2 separate regions of the Homo sapiens genome follow, and region 1 is linked to region 2. The links are contacts of gene promoters, found by promoter capture Hi-C in human tissues and cell types (Jung and others, 2019). All regions are on one chromosome and are shown on one strand. Each heading gives the region's core, a stretch centred on a gene start or on the middle of the fragment in contact. The rest is flanking DNA. Distances are from core to core; before and after follow the strand shown.

Region 1 (7,045 bases), core at 4,343-6,842, 1.1 Mb before region 2:
ATAGCTTGATTTAATTTTTCCCAAACTCTGTGAGTACTATTTGCATCTACATCCTGATGTTTAAGATAAGAAAACTGAGGCTAAGAGATGTTGGATAACTTGCTCAGAATTATACAAGTAGCAATTAATTTTACAGAATTTATTTGAGGTCCAAGCTGCTTGACTCCTGAGCCCTAGCTGGTAACCTCTGCAATCTATTTTCTCTGATTAACTTTTTGTGTACCTTTTAACACATCATTACTCTCCCTTGGAATCACGACATTGCCATCTTCACAGGACCAATAATTTTAAATTATATTTCAAAATAGTTATATTTTCTAGTCTACATAAATTGAAGTTTCAAAAAATACAACTATGAAAGCTTTGAAATATCCATTTGAGATTTAGAATGTGAAATTTAGAATGTCTTCATGCCAGCAATATACAAATATCTGCCTTCTCCTTGGTTAATAAGTGAAATGTCTGGAATACAACACAGCTTCAAAGAAGCTATTATTTACTAGAAGAAGATCTCAATCCAGAAACATCTTGGCTTTTTCCAAATGTATGAGACACACTCATATGTAAAGCCAGTTTTGATACTTACTACACTTTGGTTTAATATAGTAATTCCCAGCCCAGGATCTCAGAGAAAATCTCAAGGATTTTTATAAAACACTACCAACGTTTTCAAAGAAAATTAATTTAAATTTACTTTTAAATCAGCTTGATTTTGTGCCTGAATAGTATTGTGTTAAATTCTAGACTGTGAGCAATGGTAAAACCAATTTATTGCCATCAGGTTGTTACTGCTGCTCTGTGTTAGGCACTGACCTAGATGAAGATGGAAAAGATATTCATGCAGCTACAGTGCTTGAAGGGAATGGAGATAGGCATGTGGCCTCTTACAAAGATGGTTTATGTGTTAGTAACAAAATCTACTAAAACTGAAGATAATTTCATGGAAGACTATAGGCTATTTCACCAAAAGACCTGGCAGGAAGTGTAGCTAGATTGCAAAATGGACTGACACCAGGAACAAGGAAGCTATGAATTGAAATTATTTTATCTGTCAATAAAGGACTGCATGGTCTCCCATCTCTCCTTCTCTGTGATCAACTATATCATTCTTCTGTCTCTTTCTCTCTCTCTCTCTAGCATAACTTCCTCTATTTTATAATGCATTAGATCTGAACATGGCCATTCCAAGCTCTAGGTTAACATTGCCCAAGATGACATATTCTCAGGCTCTGATTTCTAAGTAATGGAGGAAAAGAATGTACCTGAAACAACTAACACCAAGGGTCCATCCATGTCCCCGATAGCTGTGACAGGGTTGGAGAGAGCTGAGGCTTAACTCTCATGTAGAGTTCAGAGAGCTGAGGCTTAACTCTAATACAGGTACAAGCAATGTGAAAGGAGGGTATAAATCTTTATCTAAGAATTGGATATGGGACAAAAAAAATTATCATATATTTGGTATACACACAATCTTATTGCACAGCAGAATGTGGAAAGAATGATGCAACAGATGTAGACAATTGGTTATGATAATGAACATGTAAGACATTGTTTGTGCTTATGTATATATGTCTCATAATATATATAACAGCAATGGGAATATATAACATCACATTCAAGTTGATAGTTCAAGCTGATGCCATGGGTTTTTCATATAAAGTCATAGCATTTAAAGTGAACCTTAATAAAGATATTGATACCTATCATTTGTTCGGTGCTTAATTTATGTCAAACAATGTTATAAAATGTGTTGCAGGTAAGATCTTATTTAATTTTTAGTGCAACATCATAAAGTAGATACTCTCATCTTCCCCATCTCAGAGAAAGGGAAACTGGTCCTTAGGCTAAGAACTTGCTGGGGTCACGCATCTATTAAGTGACAGAGGCAGAATTCTCACCTATGATTCTTTAACTGCAAAGCTAATTTTCTTAACTACTATGCATTACTCTCATTCCAAGCTCTAAGGGTAGTAGAATTTTGTTTTAGAGATACGATATTAATATGTCCTGTGAAAGACTGCAAGAGTAAAGACAAAATAATGATAAAATTCTGGAGGATTCAAGGAATACTAACTAGCTATTTTTAGCTGAAACATTGCATTCATGAGGAAAAGAAAAGAGAAATGAAGCCTGAAAGATAAACCTAGTCCTGAGTATAGTGGGCTATAAAAACTATATTAAGCAGAAAAGAAAATTAATTGAAATGGTTCTTGAGGAAATTGTGATGGTGGTGCATAGGGTTCACAGGGTGAGTTTGGAAGAGAAAATAATGAGTCACATCAGCAAGAAAGCTATTGCATTGTCCTGTCAAGATCAACGACTGCAGGCCACTTTATTTAGTTGATATAAATAATAAGCATGTTTCAGCCATCCATGAATAAACTTGTTTATCAAGGAGATCAGCTAAACTCTAAAAAATAAGACGAAAAGCTGTCAAAATAAGTGTGTGGTAAGTTTAAGGTATCTATCAGAATTTTTTGTTGATGCATTGTTACTGTTGCGGAAAAAAAGAGAACCACCACCAAAAAAAAAAAAAAAAAAAAAAACACGCTTGAAAAATTCCAATCTCTGAAATTCTCTACATAAATATAAGAGGATTTTTATCAACTCCCTATTCCTCAGCAAGTTCTGTTTAGCTCATCCCCTAAGTTATATATTAGTAGCTTTTATCCCTGTGCAATGCTTACACCTACCCAAGCCATCATTATTTTCTTCCTGGATGCCACCTACTGCTAGAGAGATCTAGCAGATCTCTCAGCTGCCAATTTCACCCTCCTCCACTTCTATCCACTGTTTACAATACAAACAGAGCAATCTCTTCAAAACTTTTTTCAGATTAAGCCTTTTGCCTGATTAAAGCTTATTAGTGGCTTAGAAATGATCTTAGACTAAAATCCAAGGTCTTTGGAATGGTCTGTGATATCACACATGATTTAGGCACTCAGTATATACCTCTCCAGTTTCATCTTCTGTCATTCTCTCTACTCTGCCTCTCTCTCCATTCCAATGCTCTCCAGCTATGCTGACTTTTTTCTATGACTCAAATATGCCATAATCTTCCCCAGTTCAGGACTTCTGCCCTTTCTAGACCACTCATATTTCTCCTTAGAAGGCTGTTTTCTCATCTTCAGAATCCAATATCATGCTGTCAGAGGCTTACCTTCACCACTAATTAAAAATAGCTCTAACTTTTTCCTCTACTCAGTAGTACATCACAGGAAGAGTAGTCATTAAGTGCATGAAGTATAAAAGCTGCTGTAGAGTGTTCCAGGTTAAAAAAAAAAGAGGGCATACACAAAGATTCACATGGAAGAGAAGGACATTTATAAGGCTAGAAAATGGTTATAAATGGAGTAGGGGTGCAAAATAGGGGAAGGTAAGAGATGAGACAGAAATAACTTGAATTATGAAGGGCTTTTAAGCCAACATAAAGAGGTTAGGCTTTATTTTGAACTATACAGTGGTATGAGAAGGAAGACAATGGAATGTCTCATACAGCAGAGTGACATGGCCGTAACTGTACTTTATAAAGATGAAAGGTAGTAGCGTAGATAAAGTGGGCAAGACTGGAGGCAAAGAAATAATCAAGCAGGAGATGGTGATGTGCTGATCTAAAATGAGAGGCAACATGGAGCTAGCTGGGGAATACTTAAGCAGCAGAATTAATTGTTGGGAAATTATCTAGCAATTAGGGATCTATTTGCACTTTTGACACTTCTATTACCAAGACAAATCATTTATTTCAGTAAGATGTTTTCCTTTGGCTAAGGCAATTAGTGGTTTAATTAAACAAGTAGTTCTATTTTTATAGAATAAGAAGGTCCTAATATATGTATGTTAAATACTGTAAATAAACTGATACATTTTAAGAGCTAAATGGGAGAAAGCAGTTAACCCTCAGTCTCTTAGGACAAATAAAACAAAATATTACTTCAAAACTGGGAATTTTAGAGCAGTGAGTCACGTCAGACGTGTTTAATCCACAAAGAAAACTAGATATTCCCAAAGTGAGTAAATTGCTGAAAAGCACTCTGAATAAGCCAGCTGAGTTTTGTTGTTGTTGTTGTGGATATTTTTCTTTTAACTTGTATTTGAAGGTTTAAAACTGTGATATTTCACTTCAGAAATGCCTTTAGTTGGCATATATGAATAAAACTGAAATAGTAATCAGAATCCTAGAGAGGAGAAAAAAGCAAGTATTTTCATTATAAACATCAATAGAATTTCAACTGTCAAACAAGCAAATAAAAAATAAGAACTTTTATTTTGAATTGCAATCTAGCAACATAGATTTTTTATATGCAAAATAACATGTTACAGATAACTGACATTTGGGCTGTGTGACCTGATAATAGGACATAACATAGAATTCCTAGAGTAATACATGAATAGTTGGTCAAATAGACCATCTTCCTTGAATATCAATTCTCTTAGTTAAGTTTGTGATTAAAAACTGAAAAGCAGACAGTTTGCTCATAAAATCTTGCACATGAGTTTAAAATGCTAGCAATCTATATATATGGTAGTTCTTAAGCTTTGGAAAACAAAGAGGTGAAAAGAAGGATGGAATATCTATTATGAAAGTTGAGAAGTCTGACTGGAATTCTTAATAAGAAGTAGGTGTGGTATCTGAGAAAAATGGGCCATAAAGGTCTCCAAGTTAAGTCCAAAATTCACTTTATTAGTCACTCTGAAATTATCGCAACCCTGAGACAATCCATTTTCTAATTTTTTTTTTCACATCGATCCATTTTGCCTGTTCTTTAGAACTGGCAACTTTCACACATAGCTGGTAGGGATGTAATATGGATCAACCACTTTGAAAAAGGTTTTGCCAGGTTTTAGTAAAATTGAACATATATTTACCTTATGATATAGTGATTCTGTTTCTATTTACTAAAAATATATATATGAAAATACATATGCACCAAATATAATAAAATTTGTACAAAAAGTTACAAAGAAGCTTTTTCGTAACAGTCTAAACAGCTGTCAACACAGGAATAAGTTATTTTTGCCATATATAGATAATTAATTATTGCTTTGTAATACAAGGTATGAACAACAGATACATGCAAAGACACAGATGTATTATCACATAGTCATTATGCTGAACTAAAAAAGCCAAACATAAAATAGCATATACTACGTAATCCCACTTTTGAGGAGAACAGAGATGTCCTGTATATTAATAGTAGTGCTGATTATAGAAATAGAGGGAACATCACACACCAGGGCCTGTTGTGGGGTGGGGGCTAGGGGAGGGAGAGCATTAGGAGAAATACCTAATGTAGATGATGGGTTGATGGGTGCAGCAAACCACCATGGCACGTGTATACCTATGTAATAAACCTGCACGTTCTGCACATGTAACCTAGAACTTAAAGTATATATATATATATATATATATATATATATATATATATATACACACACACACACACTATATAGATATATATACACACTATATATATATGAAATATATATATATACTATATATATGATATATATATATATATTTATATGAAATAGAGGCCTTTGTCAACTCTCTAAATATGTGTAGTTCACTGAATGGAAATTTTACCTGAAGAAAAAGAAACTGCAGACATATGGGCATAGGTTAACAGTGTTCTAGATTAGAGGAACTAAAAAAAAAAAAAAATTAAGTAAATGTAATGCCTGATCCTAGATTAGATCCTAGACCCAGGAAACAATATCTCTAAAGAATATTATTGATACAGTTTATGGAATTTGAATATGGGGATTAAAAATAGTGCTATCTAAATTTCCCAACTTTGGAATTGCTCTGTGTTTATGTAAAATAATGTCCTTACTCTTCAAAAGTGCACATGAATATTTAGGCTTAAAGGTCTCCAATATCCTCTCAAATGGTTAGAAAAAATATTACATCCATATCTTCATAGAGAGTAATACAGAATATAGAGAAAATATAAATAACTGGTGAATCTAGGGATATATGAGAGTTCTTTGTACTATTTCTGTAAATCTGAAACTACATCAAAAGGAAAGGTACCCTACCCCCAAATAAAGTGATAAATGCTCAGAAATGTCAAAGTTCTGCAGCATATTTAATTTGGGCCTCAACTCTTTCAAAAAATATATTACGATTTACCTATCATAGATATAGCAACATAGGCTTCTGTGGACTATGTACATTTGTCTCCAGTACGTTTGTCTCCAGAACTGATGTATGACTAAAATGAATGCTTCATTTTTGGAGAATAACTTTTAAGAATGATGGTTATTATTTAGCATAGTTAATAGTAAGCAATTCTTATCTATTTAGACAGCAAGACCAGTTGCCTCTGGTAATAACTTTTAGACCCTAAAGAGAAAACATTTCATCAACATAAAAACACACATATTTTTAAGTTTGCTACTCCGGGACAGCATGTGTCCAATTAATTGAACTTAGTAGGAAGCCATTAAAAAGGAGCTAAAAAAGGAGAATTAAAACATAGTTTTAGTACATGCTACTTGAAATTGTGACCTGGTCAGGCAGAACACATCTACCTATACTAATTAAGATAGTTTTATATGATTTAGTATTCATGAAAGCATTTACAGCTGAGGGGCTATGTTAAGCTTATATTTCTTGACCGCTCAATTTTGTACACATAATTATTGGTTAGTGCAAAGCAATAAAAACTATAAGTAGTCATATTTGACTCAGTTGATTTCTTAACAAAATGAGTATAAAAGAAGTCAATATTAAAATAGTTGACATGAAAACCATGCTCTTCTCATTTAAGGAAGTGGACTCTGAGACACAGGCCAGCAGCTCATTAAGGAGAAAGCTATCAGAAAGTGTTACAGAATTACCTATTAAGTTCTCTGTTTTACAGTTTAGGGAGAGGAAAGGTGGCTGGCTCTTTTTAAAAATTTAGCAGGCTACATGCTGAGACTCTACATTAAAGAACTTACGTTAATAGTTAATTGGAGTGGATAATTTGTCAAGTATTGGGGTCTACTACACACAACAATTCAAAAGTTTAGTCTGGTTTAGGACGCTGAGATCTCCTAT
Region 2 (6,859 bases), core at 715-3,214:
GGGACATGGATGAAATTGGAAATCATCATTCTCAGTAAACTATCGCAAGACCAAAAAACCAAACACCGCATATTCTCACTCATAGGTGGGAACTGAACGATGAGATCACATGGACACAGGAAGGGGAATATCACACTCTAGGGACTGTGGTGGGGTGGGGGGAGGGGAGAGGGATAGCATTGGGAGATATACCTAATGCTAGATGACGAGTTAGTGGGTGCAGCGCACCAGCATGGCACATGTATACATATGTAACCAACCTGCACAATGTTCACATGTACCCTAAAACTTAAAGTGTAATTAAAAAAAAAATTCAATTCTTTAGCAGTAAAGCAGTGGGAAGATGTCTAAGGACAACTGATATGCCAATTCGTATAGCCGTTTATCCACGAAGCTAATTCTGCAGTACTTAAAAATATTTTATATGCTTTATACTTCTTTCAAACTTGAGTCTTGAGCTTGTACTCAACATCGAGTTCGGCCCTGACATCTACTCTTTATAGTCGGTTACCTCTTTCTGAAGAAACAGGCTTCCAAAGAGAGACCAGGGGACTCATTAGATGTCTCATCTACCTTGATGATTGCTACCTTGATGATTGAAAACAGTAACCTGCTTCCTGAATCAAACACAAAACAGGCAACATGCAGTGTCTTTGCTATGCCACAACAGGGACTATTAGAATTTTTCTCACAATTCGGACTTTGGTTTTCAAAAGGGCTTGCGAGGGAAGTTACACACAAGAGAAAAACAATGAACCGAATGAGGACAATAGCCCACGAATTTAGAATGGAGGAAGCCCGTCCACCACAGCGAAAAAGCACAGTACCACATTGGCGGGTGCTCCAATATTTGTGAAATGTTGATGACCCTTTAAATGTTTCTGTGCAACCTCCACAACAAATACTGTGAATCTTGCTTATTAATGCGTTTCTCAATACGTTAAAATTCAGGAAATCATTAAGTCTAGTCCTTAACAGTGAAGGGCAAGCAATTTTCTGTCATTGAAATTACACAAAACAAAACAAAAAGCTCACGCCTGAATTGCTTCGGACTATTCAACTGGAAGATAGAAAAATATATGAAGTAAAGAAGAATAACCTACATAGAAGTTCCTATCTCTTATCTTCCTGAATACTTACCAGTACACTATTAGTTTGTTCTAAACTTTTCTTATATAAAAAGTAGCTGAATACTTTTAGGGAAATGGATTGTTTTGTCTGAATCATCCAGATAATTCAAACAATTCATTTTCCTAAGAACGATATGTGTGAGTCTGTCCTGCCCGGAAAATGCCCTCTGTCCTACTCAGGACACAAGTCACGCTCAGCTTAAACAGGCAAGGAATTGTCCCCTAGGAAGGAAATACGCCGTTGTCGTTCAGTGAACTCTGCAACCAACAGCAAGCCAAACTCTCCCTTGCACACAGTTCGTCAAGTTAATTCTTATTTTCCAAGGGCGCTTTCGTATTTCCATCTTTCAAAGACTCCTTCACCCACTGGCACCTAAGGCTTGCCCTAACGCATCCAGCCCCTGCCTCGCGATGGTGCGCTCCGCTTATAATAGCTCCGTCCTGTCCAATAAAGTTGTTTAAAATAAGAAATGTGCCAGATAATAGCCAAGTCCGAAGGAAAAAAAAAAAAAAAGAATTCCTGGGGTGGTGTATTGGTGTTGGAATGTGCCATTAGTTTTGGAGGGAGGAAAGTCCCTGGTGTGAATTGCCTCGCAGGTCGTAGGCCGCCACTGGACCTTCAGTCGTGCACTGCATTAGCGCCGTAATGGCAAAGATACGAAGAAGCGCGCAGGCAGGGGAGCCACGGCCGCGCGCACAGGCAAGAGCTGGAGACGACTGCGGAGCGCGTCCCCCACGCCCGCGTGGTGCGCTCTGGGGCGGCCCCCTAGCGGCAGGGCGGGGCGGGGCAGGGGGCGGAGAGGCCTGGCGCACAGGGCGAGGGCGGCTGCGGCGCAGTCTGCAGCATGGCGTACCCGGGGCATCCTGGCGCCGGCGGCGGGTACTACCCAGGCGGGGTAAGTGCTGACTGCGCGGGATCGCGGCCCAGGCGGCTCCGGGGCGCTAAGAGGCCACCTTGGAGATGCTGCGGCCAGCGGGGTGAGGCGCTGCTGGGCGGCTACCCGGGCTCCTTCCGCCCTCGGCTTCTCCCTGCGCTCGCGGCCTCGCCCTAGGCCCCTGGGGTTCGGCCTCTCCCCACGTTTCCCCGTCCCTTCTCCTGGATGGCCCTGCGGGGCCAAGGTGAGGGTGGATTGGGACCCTAGAAGCCCACCCTGCGGCTTCTCGGATACGCGGCGTGAAATCGTGTTAATTGGGTGTTGGCTGACCCCCACCCCACCCCACCCCCGCCTTCTTGGTTGCCTCCCAGAGCAACAACAGTCATTTTATTCTAGAATGATATACCTTCCTCCCTTTAAAAAACAAACAAACAAACAAACAAACAAACAAACAAAAAACGAGTGAGAAGGGGGACGGAAAAAAAGGGAAAACCTGCTGAAGTAAAAGACCTGTAGGAAGGCAGCCTCGCCGGGCGTCTGGGATGCGCGTTGTCTTGGGAACTGTTTCCGAGACAGGCAATGTTCCCTCGCCACCCACGAGATACAGCCCGGCCGGACACCTTACTCTTCCCTAGGCTACACCCGTCTCAGAATGTTACCAACTCCAGCCTTCCATCGTTCATAAAACGCTCTTAAAATACCATAAATGCTGTAACAACAAAAGGAGAATTTGAAGCCCTGCCATTCGTTGGCTTACCTAGTTTGCACTCACCTCAGTAACCTTCAGGTTAATAGGGATTTTAAAAGTTGCTTTACATATGTAGACATCACTTTCACAGCAACTCTTTATGGTCTAAGTCGCCAGTTTTTAAATTACGGGGTGTGAATGGAAGAGAGGGGTGGAGTGTTGGCAGAGTGTGCCCGGTGGTGGGGAGGTGAGCCTTGTGAAGGGCGGGCAGGCGGGCAGTTGTCTGGCCTTGCACAAAAGCCCTCAGTGGTGAAAGAAGAAAACTTGATTCGGCAGAATGACGTGTATGTGTTTCCTGTTTCACAGTATGGAGGGGCTCCCGGAGGGCCTGCGTTTCCCGGACAAACTCAGGATCCGCTGTATGGTTACTTTGCTGCTGTAGCTGGACAGGTTAGCTTTTCCCTTTAATATTAAAGAGCCGTTATTGTCTGCATTTGTGGTAGCTTTTGATATAGTGACACAGAAAAGCGAACTTCCTGTGGTACTGAGTCCCTTTGCTTCTGCAAAAGAAAAAAAAAGTTGTTTCTTATTTTAGTTTTTTATTTCTGAATGTTCAGAATAAATGAGGACAAAGTGTTACTCGTATTTATGTGAGTTCAGTTCGAAAGCAAACTTGTGGTTGAATTAAAGGGTCCAGGATGGTTTCAAGCGAAAAAATTCAAGATCTGGTAAATATAAACGCTTGTTTGTACAACTTAAAGACATATATTAGTAATTACATAGCTCGATTCTAATGGGCACTTTCTTTGGGTTGAACTTGATTGCTAATCATTCACCCCCTTAGGAAATATGGTAAAAACCCACCAGCTTCTAAATAAGGAAGTTACTGTTCCCTTCTTAGTATCAGAAAGTTAATCTTGTGAACAGTGTAGTTTCTCTTTGATGCAGATGCTGTTACTAGGTCAGCCCCTCCATGTCCTTATTAGGTGTTCTGGCCTGTTGACCCAGAGAAGCAATTAAGGTCAGCTCCCCAAGACCTTTCACTTGTCTGCATTCTGAGTTGTATGACAGGTGCTATCTTACATTGACAGGTGCTATCTTACATTGAGAGAGGACACTTCCCTAGTTCATGAGGTCACTGTGTGCAGTAAATATACTGTTGGTATAACCCAGACACGTCCAGAGGAGATGTTTGTTCTTATGAATTCAACCTAGTTTTGTTTTGACCAAAAGCTAGAAATAGCAAAATCTTAATGTGAAAACTGTAGAATATTATGGGATAAAAAACCTAAGACCACTTTTAAGGTAGTACTCTAAGAAATACAGCTTAAGAAATTGAATGGAAAATATAGTCTAAAACTGGAAGACCTTCCCCTTAAGTATCTACTTAAACTGTTAATGATCTGTATCTTTGAAACCACAAGGCATGGCAAACCTCAAGACTAGCATTCTTAGATTGCCAGTGCCTCCAGCATGTAAGTGACTCCACCTGCTTAGCTTTCAGCAGCCCTGGCCTGTATTCAGCATACCCATTGTCTTTCAAATTGCTGATCTTGCTCCTCATTTATAACTTATAATACCCAGTGACTTGAAGATTTAGGTATTTTATTTTAAAGTCCCTAAAAATCACATATATCTAGTTCTTTCCCAGTTCAGCCAGTGAATGGGCACTGGGAACCTAATGTGAATCTTCCAGATGTATTTGTGCTCTGAAAAAAATGATTCACTATATCATAAGAAAAAGTGACCAAGGAGGCCTTTTTCTGTTTGAACCAAGCCTTCTATTTATTGATGTCTGCTTTGTACCTTGCTCTCTCCACCCCCATCAAAAAAAAATATTTTAAAATGTTTAGCTGTAGCAGTTTGCTAGCTCAGATTGAGAGAAGAGTAGTTGCCAAGACAGACTCTTTCTTTCATCATTAAATTACTTTTGGAAGTGGGTTAAGGAAAAGAATGCCCACTTTTGGAAGGCATTCCTTTTAATAAAAAAAAGGCATTCCTTTTAAATAAAAAAAAGATACTGATTTTCTTTGTTGTTATTGCTTCATTGAATGCTGAAGGTAAACAACTTGAAAGTACAAATCACTATTATGATTCCTCTAATTTTTTTTCAAAAGGATGGGCAGATAGATGCTGATGAATTGCAGAGATGTCTGACACAGTCTGGCATTGCTGGAGGATACAAACGTAAGTTGACAGTCCCAAAGTTTGTCTAAATATACTCTTGTGTTTCCTATCTTAGCTGTTACTTGTGATTACAGCCTTCAAGAAAACTGAGCTTGTCGGATCTAGCAAAGTTTAGAATTCCGAAAGCTAAAATACAGTACTATTTCAAAATGTTGATTTGAAAACAGTTTTTAAATCACTCCAGGCTGGGCACAGTGGCTCACACCTGTAATCCCAGTACTTCAGAGGCCCAGGCAGGAGGATCGCTTGAAGCCAAGAGTTTTTGGCTGCAGTAATCTATGATTGTACCACTGCACTCCAGCCTGAGCAACAGAGCAAGACCTTGTCTTTAAAATAATAATAATAATAAATTATTCCATCCTACCTGCCAATCTAGTGGATTTCTCAGATTTGGGTTTTGTGTACCTAGAACCAGTGAGACAGTTTGGGTGGCCTCCTTCACAGAGGACAAGGTAGGGTGCTGAAATGGAATCTGCCAGGTCAGGGGTCATTAACTGACATTAGGAACTGATATTTACTGTTATTTGCCAAGAGCCTACTCTGCCCTGACCTGGTGGCACTTAGGGCTTTGAGTTGCTGCCCTGCACCCCTGGTCCCTGAGTGGCCTATCCTGCACTCCTGGTCTCTGAGCTTTGGGCATGCTCCTGCTAACATAAGTGGTTGCCATGACATCCCTCAGGTCTTTCCTCTTCCACTTCATAGAATGTATTCAGGCTAAGTGGGAAGTGGCCTTTCTACTTACTGGACCTGCTGCTCCATAATTCAGCCCTTACCCTACCCCTGCCTTTTGAACACTCTGCCATGAGCTGAGAGTAATGAAATACTGCAAAGATGCTCCATCCCTGGCAGGGCACAGTGGCTCACACCTGTAATCCCAGCACTTTAGGAGACTGAGGTGGGAGGATTGCTTGAGCCCGGGAGTTCAAGACTAGCCTGGGCAACATAGTGAAACCTTGTCTCTGCAAAAAATTTAAAAATTAGCCAGGCATGGTGGCATGCACCTGTGGTCCCAGCTACTCAGGAGGCTGAGGTGGGAGGATTATACAAGCCCAGGAGGCGGAGGTTGCAGTGAGCCAAGATTGTGCCACTGCACTCCAGCCTGGGTGACAGCCTGTCTCAGAAAATCCAAAAAATTGCTGCATCCCAACTGGGGGCTTCTCATCATCCAACACATATGAAGTGGTTCCTCTTGAAATTAGATCTTGAACATGATAGATTTCCAGGGTAGAGAATAATGTCTTAGTTCAAATACATTACCAACTTCTTTGCCAGTTGTTAATTGAGACAAAACATCAAATTGAAGACCCAATTTCATGGTTAGCTGTGGATTAAAATGTTCAAACTAGAATTCACAGCTGTGAATTTATAGTGGCCTTTTTTTAAAAACTATTTGACATGGCATGTATTAGATGGCTGTCTTTGAACTCTTTGCATTTGTTTTCATTATCCTTTGTTTTATGTGACTTTAGTATCCTATTACTCTTTCCTAATTAGAGGAATTAATACAAACGAAGAACCTTTCAAGTTCCTGTTATTTAATCTAGTCCTAAACAAAATAAGCACTTTTTGGATTAGGGGATGTTATTCTTTACTGTGTAGGCAGTACATTTAAATTGTTAATTGTTACGCAATTGAGCTGGTAAACAAGGTAGGCCTGCCTATTAGCAGGGTTTATCAAAGTGCAGTGAGATCACAGCATGGCCTGTTATTCTACATCCTTTCAGTAGATGAGGTGTGGCAGATTTTAGAATCTGACTAACAAAATGGGTTGTATATTGTTAGAGAGCAGTCCTTTTAAAATTTCATTGAGAAAGCCACATTTAGTGATGGCCTTAGATCAATGCATTAAAGAGAAAGCATTTCCTGAATCATGGGGCCTATGTGATTGAATCCATTTGCCTACTCTCTGGTGGCCGTACTGAACCACAGAACCATCCTGCCTATGAGGTGTCAGTGTTTTGTAATGCAGATATTATATG

Evidence for each region. The method cuts DNA at HindIII sites, captures the fragments that hold promoters and counts their contacts. A contact is called where the count stands out against the background at its distance.
Region 1: a contact is called between a fragment that was not itself captured here and the fragment with the promoter of SRI in region 2, in 1 of the 25 tissues and cell types used here (mesenchymal stem cells).

What each region holds. Positions count from the first base shown.
Region 1 is chr7:89,296,601-89,303,645 of GRCh38, reverse strand. All of the region lies in intron 2 of ZNF804B (zinc finger protein 804B), which reads right to left. Among named protein-coding and RNA genes, the nearest start is that of TEX47, 500 kb to the right of the region's middle. The HindIII fragment of the contact is 3,790 bases long and covers 3,698-7,045 here.
Region 2 is chr7:88,215,143-88,222,001 of GRCh38, reverse strand. SRI (sorcin) reads left to right here and starts at 1,964. Exons shown (of 8, transcript NM_003130.4): 1 at 1,964-2,026; 2 at 3,060-3,143; 3 at 4,811-4,880. The coding sequence starts at 1,976. SRI-AS1 (SRI antisense RNA 1) reads right to left here and starts at 5,342. Exons shown (of 3, transcript NR_120517.1): 1 at 5,245-5,342; 2 at 2,778-3,253. LOC124901691 (a long non-coding RNA gene) reads left to right here and starts at 5,418. Exons shown (of 2, transcript XR_007060419.1): 1 at 5,418-5,559. RefSeq lists silencers at 1,742-2,241, 2,889-2,978. The HindIII fragment of the contact is 24,276 bases long and covers 1-6,859 here.